Regions from separate parts of the Homo sapiens genome. Here region 2 is linked to region 1. The links are contacts of gene promoters, found by promoter capture Hi-C in human tissues and cell types (Jung and others, 2019). All regions are on one chromosome and are shown on one strand. The core of a region is centred on a gene start or on the middle of the fragment in contact, and the rest is flanking DNA. Distances in the headings are between cores, read along the strand shown.

Evidence for each region. The method cuts DNA at HindIII sites, captures the fragments that hold promoters and counts their contacts. A contact is called where the count stands out against the background at its distance.
Region 2: a fragment that was not itself captured here is called in contact with the fragment with the promoter of DHX30 in region 1 in 2 of the 25 tissues and cell types used here (liver and lymphoblastoid cells).

The regions. Positions count from the first base shown.
Region 1 is chr3:47,799,962-47,805,014 of GRCh38, reverse strand. It overlaps DHX30 (DExH-box helicase 30), which reads right to left and starts at 1,877. Exons shown (of 22, transcript NM_138615.3): 1 at 1,803-1,877. RefSeq lists silencers at 83-279, 1,457-2,306 and an enhancer at 1,207-1,732. The HindIII fragment of the contact is 11,371 bases long and covers 1-3,783 here.
Region 2 is chr3:48,140,470-48,145,532 of GRCh38, reverse strand. No RefSeq gene overlaps it. Among named protein-coding and RNA genes, the nearest start is that of CDC25A, 45 kb to the left of the region's middle. The HindIII fragment of the contact is 7,474 bases long and covers 1-5,063 here.

The sequences.
Region 1 (5,053 bases), core at 628-3,127:
CTTTGAGTTCTAATCCCATAATAATTATGATAATCTAACATAAAGAAGCTATAATACTCTTCAAGATTGGGAAAATAACAATAACTCAAAGTTGAATACCATTTTTACAGTTCACAACATACTTCCATAGACTTTACCCCATTTAATCCAGGCAACTATCCAGTGAGGTAGGAATTATCTTTCCAGAGAAGAAAACTGAAGCACAGGTTACACAACCTGCCCAAGATCCCATAGCTGCCTCAGGGCAGATGGAAATCAGCATTGAAGCATGCTGACTCCAAAACCCTCCATGCTTATACTAGGCTAATTTTCTTATTTCCAGGATATTATGCTGTTGCCTAAATGTACTACGGTTCATTCCTTGAGACATATTATACTGTTATCTTCAAAGGCTGAAAGGGGCAAGAAAGGTCCAACAGCTAATAAAACTTGTGTGTGGTTTTTGTTTTGTTTTGTTTTGAGAAGGAGTTTCGCTCTTGTTGCCCAGGCTGGGGTGAAATGGCGCGATCTTGGCTCACTGCAACCTCGGCCTCCTGGGTTCAAGCAATTCTCTTGCCTCAGCCTCCCAAGTAGCTAGGGTTACAGGCGCACGCCACCATGCCCGGCTAATTTTTGTATTTTTAGTAGAAACGAGGTCTAGCCATGTTGGCCAGGCTGGTCTCAAACTTCTGACCTCAGGTGATCCACCCGCCTCGGCCTCCCAAAGTGCTGGGATTACAGGCGTGAGACACCGCTCCCGGCCCTAATAAAACTTTGTATCACAGCTACATAAATTAAAACACTTGAAGAGCAACTATCTTTTAGGGATAAAGAGCCAACACCGGTAGAAAACGCAGCAAAGGATGTAGTTTCTGCACATCGCCTTAAATCTCTAAGATTTAAGTGTAAATTACAAGATGTAGTTAAAACCCACAATGACAGTGGGGTTACCACCTTGCAAGAAACTTCAAGGGAAATCACCAGACAACGTCTCATTTCACTCTGGCCCATAAGCTGCAACTAAAACCAGGTTGAAAGCCTGTAAGTGGCCTTCTGCAGTCTACCTGCTAGTGTATGGCAAACCCTCATGGAGTGGGGTTGTAAAGTGAAACAGCCTCTGCCTTGAAAAATCATAATTCAAGTGACCAATGTTGCTACACAACGACTAGATATGCCATATCCCTGGCTTAGGGTTTCTGAGGACCCCTGGGACTCCAGTTCACTGCAAACAAAGGACCCAACATGCATTTGGTCTTCCCCTGCTAAATGGGACAAGTTACCACCAGCAAACAAAGAATACCTCACCCCTTGGCCTCCCCCAGTGACAAGGTCGGTGCAAAAGGGGGCAAACTAGGGGGGCCAGAAGGCACCGGGCCTCCCTCTGGACGAACGGTCCGGGCAGCACCGGGAAGGAGGAGAAGTAGACAAAGGTCTCGGGGCACTCAGGAGGCTTCCTCCAGGCCCTGCCTGGGGAAACGGCGCATCCCGAGGCGAAGGCGTCGTTGCGCCAATGAAGCGGCCTCTCCCACGGCCTCCGCGGAGCCCCTGGCTGCGAGGCCCGCCCCGGCGGACCGGTCTGGCCCCCGCCCCCGCCCGGGCTCCATGGCAACGGCAGGCCGAGGCCTGGCTGCCCACGGATCGGCCGGGCCGGCTTCCCGGGCAGGCCTAGGATGCCCGGCCTGCTCCTCGGGCCCGCCGGCGTCTCCGCCCCACTCTCCGCCAGGCTGGCGGTCGGACCGGGCCCCCTCCTCACGACGACCACCCCCGGCCGCGGCAGGCTCCTCAAGAGGGCACGAAAGGGGAGAATAAAAAGCCCAATTCACCTGTTGTTACAGATGTGAAACAAGCCTCTGTGCACCGCGCATGAGCCGCGGCTCCCCCAACCACGGCCGGACTACAACTCCCAGCAGCGGCGGCGCGGCCCCTTCCGAGTCCCGTGGCGGAAGTCCCGCCACCGGCCCGGCGTTCCCCACCCGGCGTCACGGAGCCCGCCTGCGGCGCACGGCTCCGCTCCCCCGCGGGCCTGGAGCCCGGCCCCACCTGGGACTCGTCGTAGCCGCTCGGGGCACCCAGCGCCCGGGATGCCCCAGCACCCGGCCCAATGGGGCGCGGCGGCGGTGCAGGCGGGACTTCCGGCGGAGTCGCGAAGGGGACGGGTTGGCGCCGGCTGCTCTGGGGTCGCAGAGCGAGCGGGTTTGGGTGGCGGGGTCGGGCGTCAAGTTGCTGCCTTTCTCGGCGACTTAGCTGCCTGCAGTGTGAAAGCGGGAAGGGTCTTCTCGCCCTCTGCGAGCCACCCGCGCCTCCTGATGCGAATAAACAGCCCGGGTCATGGCTGAGCGGGGAACGGTTTCCAGCTCGGGCTCCGGGATTCCACCCGCCTTCCCCGCCACAGCTCGTAGCCACGCCTCTTCTCTTCCCCATCTCCCCTCTAATCTGTTTTTTTAGGGAGGTGAGCATTTTTGTCTTGTCTCCCCAGTTTGCAGGGAAGATGAAATCAACGTGTTGGTTCGTTGATTTCGTAAACTGTACAACGTTAGGCAAAGGACAAGGTGGCACTTGCTGGTCGCGGGGAGAGTGCCAGTCATAGTTGCTGGAAATCTGGAGGTCCGCCCGGCCACATCACCTCTTAGGAATGAGAAAGGGGATTGTCCCAATTACACGCTGTAGTCCTCTAGATAAGGTTCAAGTATAGGTTCAGTGGAATTCAGCTTCAAAAGGAAACAACGCAGTGGCGTAGCTCTGAAGCTGGGTCAGGATTTTACAGAGTATGGTTTTAAGATGTGGCCTTTAGGCCGGGCGTGGTGGCTCACGCCTGTAATCCCAGCACTTTGGGAGGCCAAGGCGGGTGGATCACCTGCGGTCAGGAGTTCAAAACCAGCCTGGCCAACATGGTGAAACCCCGTCTCAACTAAAAATGCAAAAAAATTAGCTGGGCGTGGTGGCGGGCGCATATAATCCTAGCTACTTCGGGAGGCTGAGGCAGGAGAATCACTTGAACCCGGGAGGCGGATGTTGCAGTAAGCCGAGATCGTGTCATTGAACTCCAGCCTGGGCGACAAGAATGAAACTTAAAAAAAAAAAAAAAAAAAGATGTGACCTTTGAGGCTGTATGAAGAATTAGTGCCATATCCCGTCACTTTTGTGTGCAAACAGTTCAACATGTATCTCTTTTCTTTCTCTCTACATTGGCTAGAAGACCGGGGTGTGGGGGTGGAACATCATTTATTCATTCAAATAATTAGTGCATCTGAACAGGGCATGGTGCTGTGTTGTGTGGAGAATAGAGAGATCCCTGCACGGACATCTGAGTGCTCTGTGTATCAGTTGCTAAGCTGGTGTGGAGGCTACAAAGGCCCTGCCTCAAGGGACTTAGAGCCTAGTAGAGAAGATGACAACATTGTGTGAAGGAAATGGAAAGTGGTAAATGCTGGAAAGGAGGTATTAGGTACTCCAAGAGTTCAGAGAAAGGAGTGGTTACTCCTGAATGGCAAAATGAAAGGAACGTGAACAAAGACATACGAGTGGAACAAGGGACAAATCCTAGGAATATTCAGTAGTTCAGTGTGACCACAGGGTTGGATGTGTGTGCAAGCTTTACAGGAAATAGAACTGAAAAACTGTTGGGGAGTGCCATACTAAGGAATTTTTACTTTTTTTGGTAAGACATTTAAAAAATTATTAGGAGAGTAAAATACTGCACTTTTTTGTTGTTGTTGAGACAGAGTCTCTACTCAGTCACCCAGGCTGGAGTGCAGTGGGGTGGTTGCGGCTCACTGCAACCTCTACCTCCCACGTTCAAGCGATTCTCCTGCCTCAGCCTCCCAAGTAGCTGGAATTACAGGTGTGCACTACCATGCCCAGCTCATTTTTGTATTTTTACTAGGGATGGTTTCACCATGTTGGCCAGGCTGGCCTCGAACTCTTGGCCTCAAGTGGTCCACACACTTTGGCCTCCCAAAGTGTTGGGATTACAGGCGTGAGCCACCACGCTGGGCCAATACTGTAATTTAGAAAGCTTCCTCTGGAAGTGAAAGGGTTGAATCAGCTGGGAAAATAGAAACTAGCATGCTAATTAGATCCCGAGAGAGAATGAAAGATTTAACTCAACAGTGAGAAAAGCAAGAAAGAAAAAAAAGGGGGGGTGACTGTTGAGCAGCAGACTGAGCCCAGGCCACAAGTGTGTGGAGAGATGACTTTGAGATCTGTACCATAGTGACTGAAAGGATTATGTACTATTAACATAATTAAGGGACACAAGAGTTGGAAAAGATGATGGATTCAGCTTCACTCAGATTATGTTTGCAATGTTGTTGGGAAAGTTAAGTGATAAAGTCGTGGTCCCTGCTCCAAAGAAAGTTATAGTCTGGTAGAGAGGATGAGAATAGCATGCAAATGTCTTTTTTTTGTTGTTTTTTTTTTGAGACAGGGTCTCACTCTGTCACCCAGGCTGGAGTGCAGTGGCACCATCATGGCTTATTGCAGCCTTAACCTCCCAGGCTCAATTAATCCTCCCTCCTCAGTTTCCTGAGTAGCTGGGACTACAGGCACATGCCACCACGCCCAGATAATTTTTTATTTTTTGTAGAGAAAGGGTCTCACTATGATACCCTAGGTTGACCTCAAACTCCTGGCCTCAAGCGATCCTCCCACTTCAGCCTCCCAAACTCCTGAGATTACAGGTGTGACCCACTATGCCCAGCCACAAATAAATCAAGACCTAAGGCCAGGTGTGGTGGCTCATGCCTGTAATCCCAGCACTTTGGAGGCCCAGGCAGGCGGGTCACCTGAGGTCAGGAGTTCAAGACCAGCCTGACCAACATGGAGAAACCCCATCTCTACTAAAAATACACAATTAATCGGGCATGGTGGCACATGCCTGTAATCCCAGTTACTCGGGAGGCTGAGGCAGGAGAATCACTTGAACCCAAGAGGCGGAGGTTGCAGTGAGCCAAGATCATGCCATTGCACTCAGCCTGGGCAACAAGTGCGAAACTCCATCTCAAAACAAACAAACAAACAAACAAAAAAACAAAAATTCAAGACCAAGTGGATGCACTCCAAAAGAGGCTCCTGT
Region 2 (5,063 bases), core at 1,349-3,848, 340 kb before region 1:
TTAGCTGGGCGTGGTGGCGGGCACCTGTAGTCCCAGCTACTCAGAGGCTGAGGCAGGAGAATGGCATGAACCCGGGAGGCAGAGCTTGCAGTGACCTTAGATCACTCCACTGCACTCCAGCCTGGGCTACAGAGCGAGACTCCATCTCAAAGAAAAAAGAAAAAAAAAAAACATATGTTAGAATAACTTAGATATATTTGAATAATACAGTTGTCCCTTGGTATCTGTGGGGAGTTGGTTCCAGGACCCCCACTGATATCAAAATCCAAAGACGCTCAAATCGCTTATATAAATGGCATGATATGGCCAGGCACGGTGGCTCACACCTGTAATCCTAGCTCTTTGGGAGGCCAAGGCAGGAGAATCACTTGAGGCCAAGAGTTCAAGACCAGTCTGGGCAATATGGCGAAACCCTGTCTCTGCTAAAAATACAAAAAATTAGCTGGGTGTGGTGGTACACACCTGTAGTTAAACAATTTTCACCTGTTCTCTTTATTGCAGGGTTTCTCAGAGCGCTTGGCCTGCCAGCATGCATCATGAATTTCAAGAGACGACAGAGCATTTTCCAAACCTATTTGCCCATGGAGACTTTTCTCCATGGAGTATCTCATTGGACTTAAGTTCCTGAGGACTAACTTTGGGGATGCTGTTTTCTCTTCTATGTGGCCATTTTCATTTGATTCTCACAGGATGGAATTCACCCTCATTTTATGGATGCAAACACTCATACTCATGGAGGTGGGTGAGTTGCTTCCGGTACTCAGTTAACAAACAGCAGAGACGGAAGTAGATGTTTGGGCTTCAGGTTCTAAGGCCAGACTCTTTGTTTTTCTTTTCTTTCTTTCTTTCTTTCTTTCTTTTTTTTTTTTTTTTTTGAGACTCACTCTGTCACCCAGGCTGGAGTGCAGTGGTGCAATCTCGGCTCACTGCAACCTCCACCTCCCAGGTTCAAGCGATTTTCCTGCCTCAGCCTCCTGCGTAGCTAGGATTACAGGGATGCGCCACCATGCCCGGCTAATTTTGTATTTTTAGTAGAGATGGGGTTTCTCCATGTTGGTCAGGCTGGTCTCGAACTCCTGACCTCAGGTGATTTGACCTCCTCGGCCTCCCAAAGTGCTGGGATTACAGGCGTGAGCCACCGCGTCTGGTGGCCTAGACTCTTTCTTGACTTTCTCCCACTTTCAAGTCACCTTCTCAAGAGATGGGCTGCTGAGCTTGCTTCTCAGGGAGGTGGAGAGTAGGCTGACTGGTGGGAAGTTGGAAGGGGAAATTTCAGGAAGCCACCGAGCGCGAGCTTCAGAGTTAGTGATAGGGACAGAGCTCTGTGTTGGACTTTCCAGGCCTTAGCCTGGTAACTCCTGCTGCCACCAAACATGAAGCCTCTGCTCTGGCCCCACCTACCTCACTGACAAGCCCTGCCTCTGGCTGCAGAATGGTGAGTGAGACAGGGAAATTGTGGGATAGGTGGAGTTTCCAGGAATACTGGGGTGAGGAAACACCCCCAGGCCTGAGCCCCGATGGAAAGAGCCCCACAGGAGTGGGTCTGGAGGGAAGAAAATCCTTGAAGGCCTGAGCCATTGTCTCCTTTCTGCAGGACACTGGGTCCACCCCACCAAGGAACTCAGTGGTCCCTGAACAAATGGGAGATTATTTTCAGGGTCCTTTATAGCATTCTTTGGCTATTTTTGTCTTCTCTTTTTGTTAAAAGTACATTCACACAGGACATTTCCTTCCTCTAACACAAAGCAGCACAGAATGGTGGGAAGGGTGCTGGCTTGGCATCGGCCGCCTTGCAGAGCACTGGGACAGGTTGCTCACCTCTGGCCTTCAGTTCCAAATTTGGGCTTCAATTTACTGAGTCCAGAAGCAATCTCTTGGTGACACCAACATTAAATTTCTTCTTCTTTCTTTCTTTTTTTTTTTTTGAGACGGAGTTTTGCTCTTGTCACCCAGGCTGGAGTGCAGTGGTGCGGTCTCAGTTCACTGTAACCTCTGCCTCCCAGATTCAAGCGATTCTTCTTGCCTCAGCCTCCCGAGTAGCTGGAATTACAGCCATGGGCCACCACGCCCAGCTAATTTTTGTATTTTTAGTAGAGACTAAAGGTGATCCACCCTCCTCGTCCTCCCAAAATGCTGGGATTACAGGCATGAGCCACCGCGCCGGCCCAACATTGAATTTCTATGAGACTTAATTTCTGGCTGGGCGCAGTGGCTTACACTTGTAATCCCAGCACTTTGGGAGGCCGAGGCAGGTGGATCACTTGAGGCCAGGAGCTCGAGACCAGTCTGGCCAACATGGCGAAACCCTGTCTCTACTAAAAAATACAAAAATTAGCTAGGCGTGGTGCTGGGCGCCTGAAATCCCAGCTACTCAGGAGGCTGAGGCAGGAGAATCGCTTAAACGCCGGAGGTGGAGGTTGCAGTGAGTCGAGATGGTGCCACTGCACTCCAGCCTGGGCGATGGAGTGAGACTGTCAAAAAAAAGAAAGAAAGAAAGAAAGACTTAATGTACTAATTTATGGCAGGAAGACCCTGCTTTCCCTCTCCTTCCTGACCTCATGATGGGTCCTGAACCAATAGTTGAGAATAAAGGAAGAGATTGGGGCCACTTGATCTAAGTTTGATGAGTGAGAGAAATTGTTCCCACATCTGGGCAGAGGGCACCTCCTGGGTACTCAGGTTCTTGGGCATCATGTCTCTCCCTCGATCCAGCTGGCCATGCACAGGCATTTTTGTTCTCCTGAGCCCTGGTTCTAGATGGGTTAATGCTGTGATTCAGCTGCAGTCTAGTCTCAGCGCTCCTGAGCTTGGGAGACACCCTGTCTCTCCCCTGCTCCCCACCCCACGCCTATGCTGCACCTCGAGGGCAAGGGTAGCAGGGCCGATGGAAGCTGAGGCACCTCACCTGCCTGGCATTTGCCAGTGCCCAAACAGCTGGGTGTGCAGGAGGAAGAATGAGGAGCCTTGGCAGCTGCCAAGCTACCCAGCGGGGGAGGGAAGGTGGCCAGGTGCGGCTGAAACAGGGTGCGGTGACTGGTCTGGGAGCTCCGAGGCCTGCCCAGACATCTGGCTGGGTCAGGAGGGCCAGGTGTGCTAAGAAGTGTGGGCTGCCCCAAAGCACAGGCTACTGAGCACCTCATGAGTGTAAGATTTGGTGAGCGCCTGAGCGGAGGAGGGGATGGGTGGATGGAAACTTCAGATTCATTATCTGTAAAGTGTGGATAAATAGCAGGGTGGTTTGAAAATTAAATGACTTAGACCAGCCTGTCCAATATGGTGAAACCCCATCTCTACTAAACATATAAAAATAAGCTGGGCGTGGTGGCATATTCCTGTAATCCCAGCTACTTGGGAGGCTGAGGCAGAAGAATCGGTTGAACCCGGGAGGCGGAGGTTGCAGTGAGCTGAGATCGTGCCACTGCACTCCAGCCTGGGCGACAAAGCGAGACTCTGTCTGGAAGGAAGGAAGGAAGGAAGGAAGGAAGGAAGGAAGGAAGGAAAGGAAATTAAATGACTTAATACATATAGGGTACGTAGCACAGTTCCAGTAAGTTCTCAAAAGTCCCAGGTATGATTATGATGAGTCCAGCACATAGGGTTGGGCAGGTTCAGTGTCTGATTCATCTGTTATCCTCTGTGTAACTACAAAAACAACAGACAAAATCAAGACAGCAGCAAAAGTCATCTCCCTCGAGTCCTCGTGAAACCCTATGAGGCAGATACCATTATTGAGCCCATTTTCCAGATGGACAGACAGGCATGGTGAGGCCACCATAATCAGCTAAGGCTAAGCCATGAAGCAGCTGTCCCCACAGAGGGCCTGCCCCATACTCTGGCTGAGGCGAAGGTCGTTCCTCCACCCTCTCCCACTGCCCACCACCCGGTCAGAGAAGCCTGCTGAGGCAGATGAGGAAACAAGGAACCAAGAGGTGACAGGCAGAGCCAGGAGCAGGTATTCTTCCCTCTGAGTGGCCTCTCCAAGCAGCCTCCACCAGACCCTGCCCTCATTCCTGAGCTCATCTCCCACTCTACCCCTCCACTTCTCCCTCTCTTCCTAGTTGGGTCATCTAGGCCTCTTGCCCTCCAGGAAGTCTTCCCTCAGCAGCCTGCCTGTCGGGGGAGTGCTCTATGGAGCACTCTCACCCTGGGTATCACTATGGAAGTGAGTGAATGGAGCCCCTTCCTTTTCCACATGATTTTGGTGAACCACAGACAGCCTGGGAGATACTCCCCAAAGGTGCTGGCCAAAGCCAAGAGACAACTAAAATAACTATTAATATTTACAGAAAACTTCATCCAACAGTTTTTTTGTTTTTTTCATATGGGGTGTCACACTGTTGCCCAGGCTGGCGTGCAGTGGCATGATCTCACTGCAGCCTCAACTTCCCCAAACTCAGGCAATCCTCCCACCTCAGCCTCCCACAGTGCTGGCCAGGAGATCACTTGAGCTCAGGAATTTGAGACCAGTCTGGGCAACATAGTGCAAACCCATCTCTACAAAAAATACAAAAAATTAACCAGGCATTGTGGCTCATGCCTGTAGTCCCAGCTACCAGGGAGGCTGAGGTGGGAGGATCACCCAAGCCTGGGAGGTGGAGGCTGCAGTGAGCCAAGATCACGCCACTGCACTACAGCATGGGTGACAGAGTGAGAGCCTGTCTCAATAGTAATAATAAATAAATAACTAAATAACTAATTAAATAAATATATAAATAAAATAAAGCTCCAACTTGCTTCTTCCCAAGTGAGGGTGTCCTCACCCTCAAAGGAGCTGGTAGGGCTGTGCTGGGGTCGTGTTCCCTGCTCGCAGAGAGCTTGCACTGCAGAAAGACCATAGCTCTGTGTCCCTGTCTGTGAAATACACACTTTATTGTGATGTAGAGCAAATGCTTGTAAAGCTCTGGACACAGAGTTGTCGCTCCATGCACGGCTTTATTTCTCAGCACAAATGCTAATTTCCCTTCCAAATGCAAAGCTTCTCAACCTCTCAAGCAGTTTAGATTGTCTGAAGGTCACAGCAAGGTCTCATGTTCCGTTTTGCCCACTGGCCTTTCCTGCCTCAC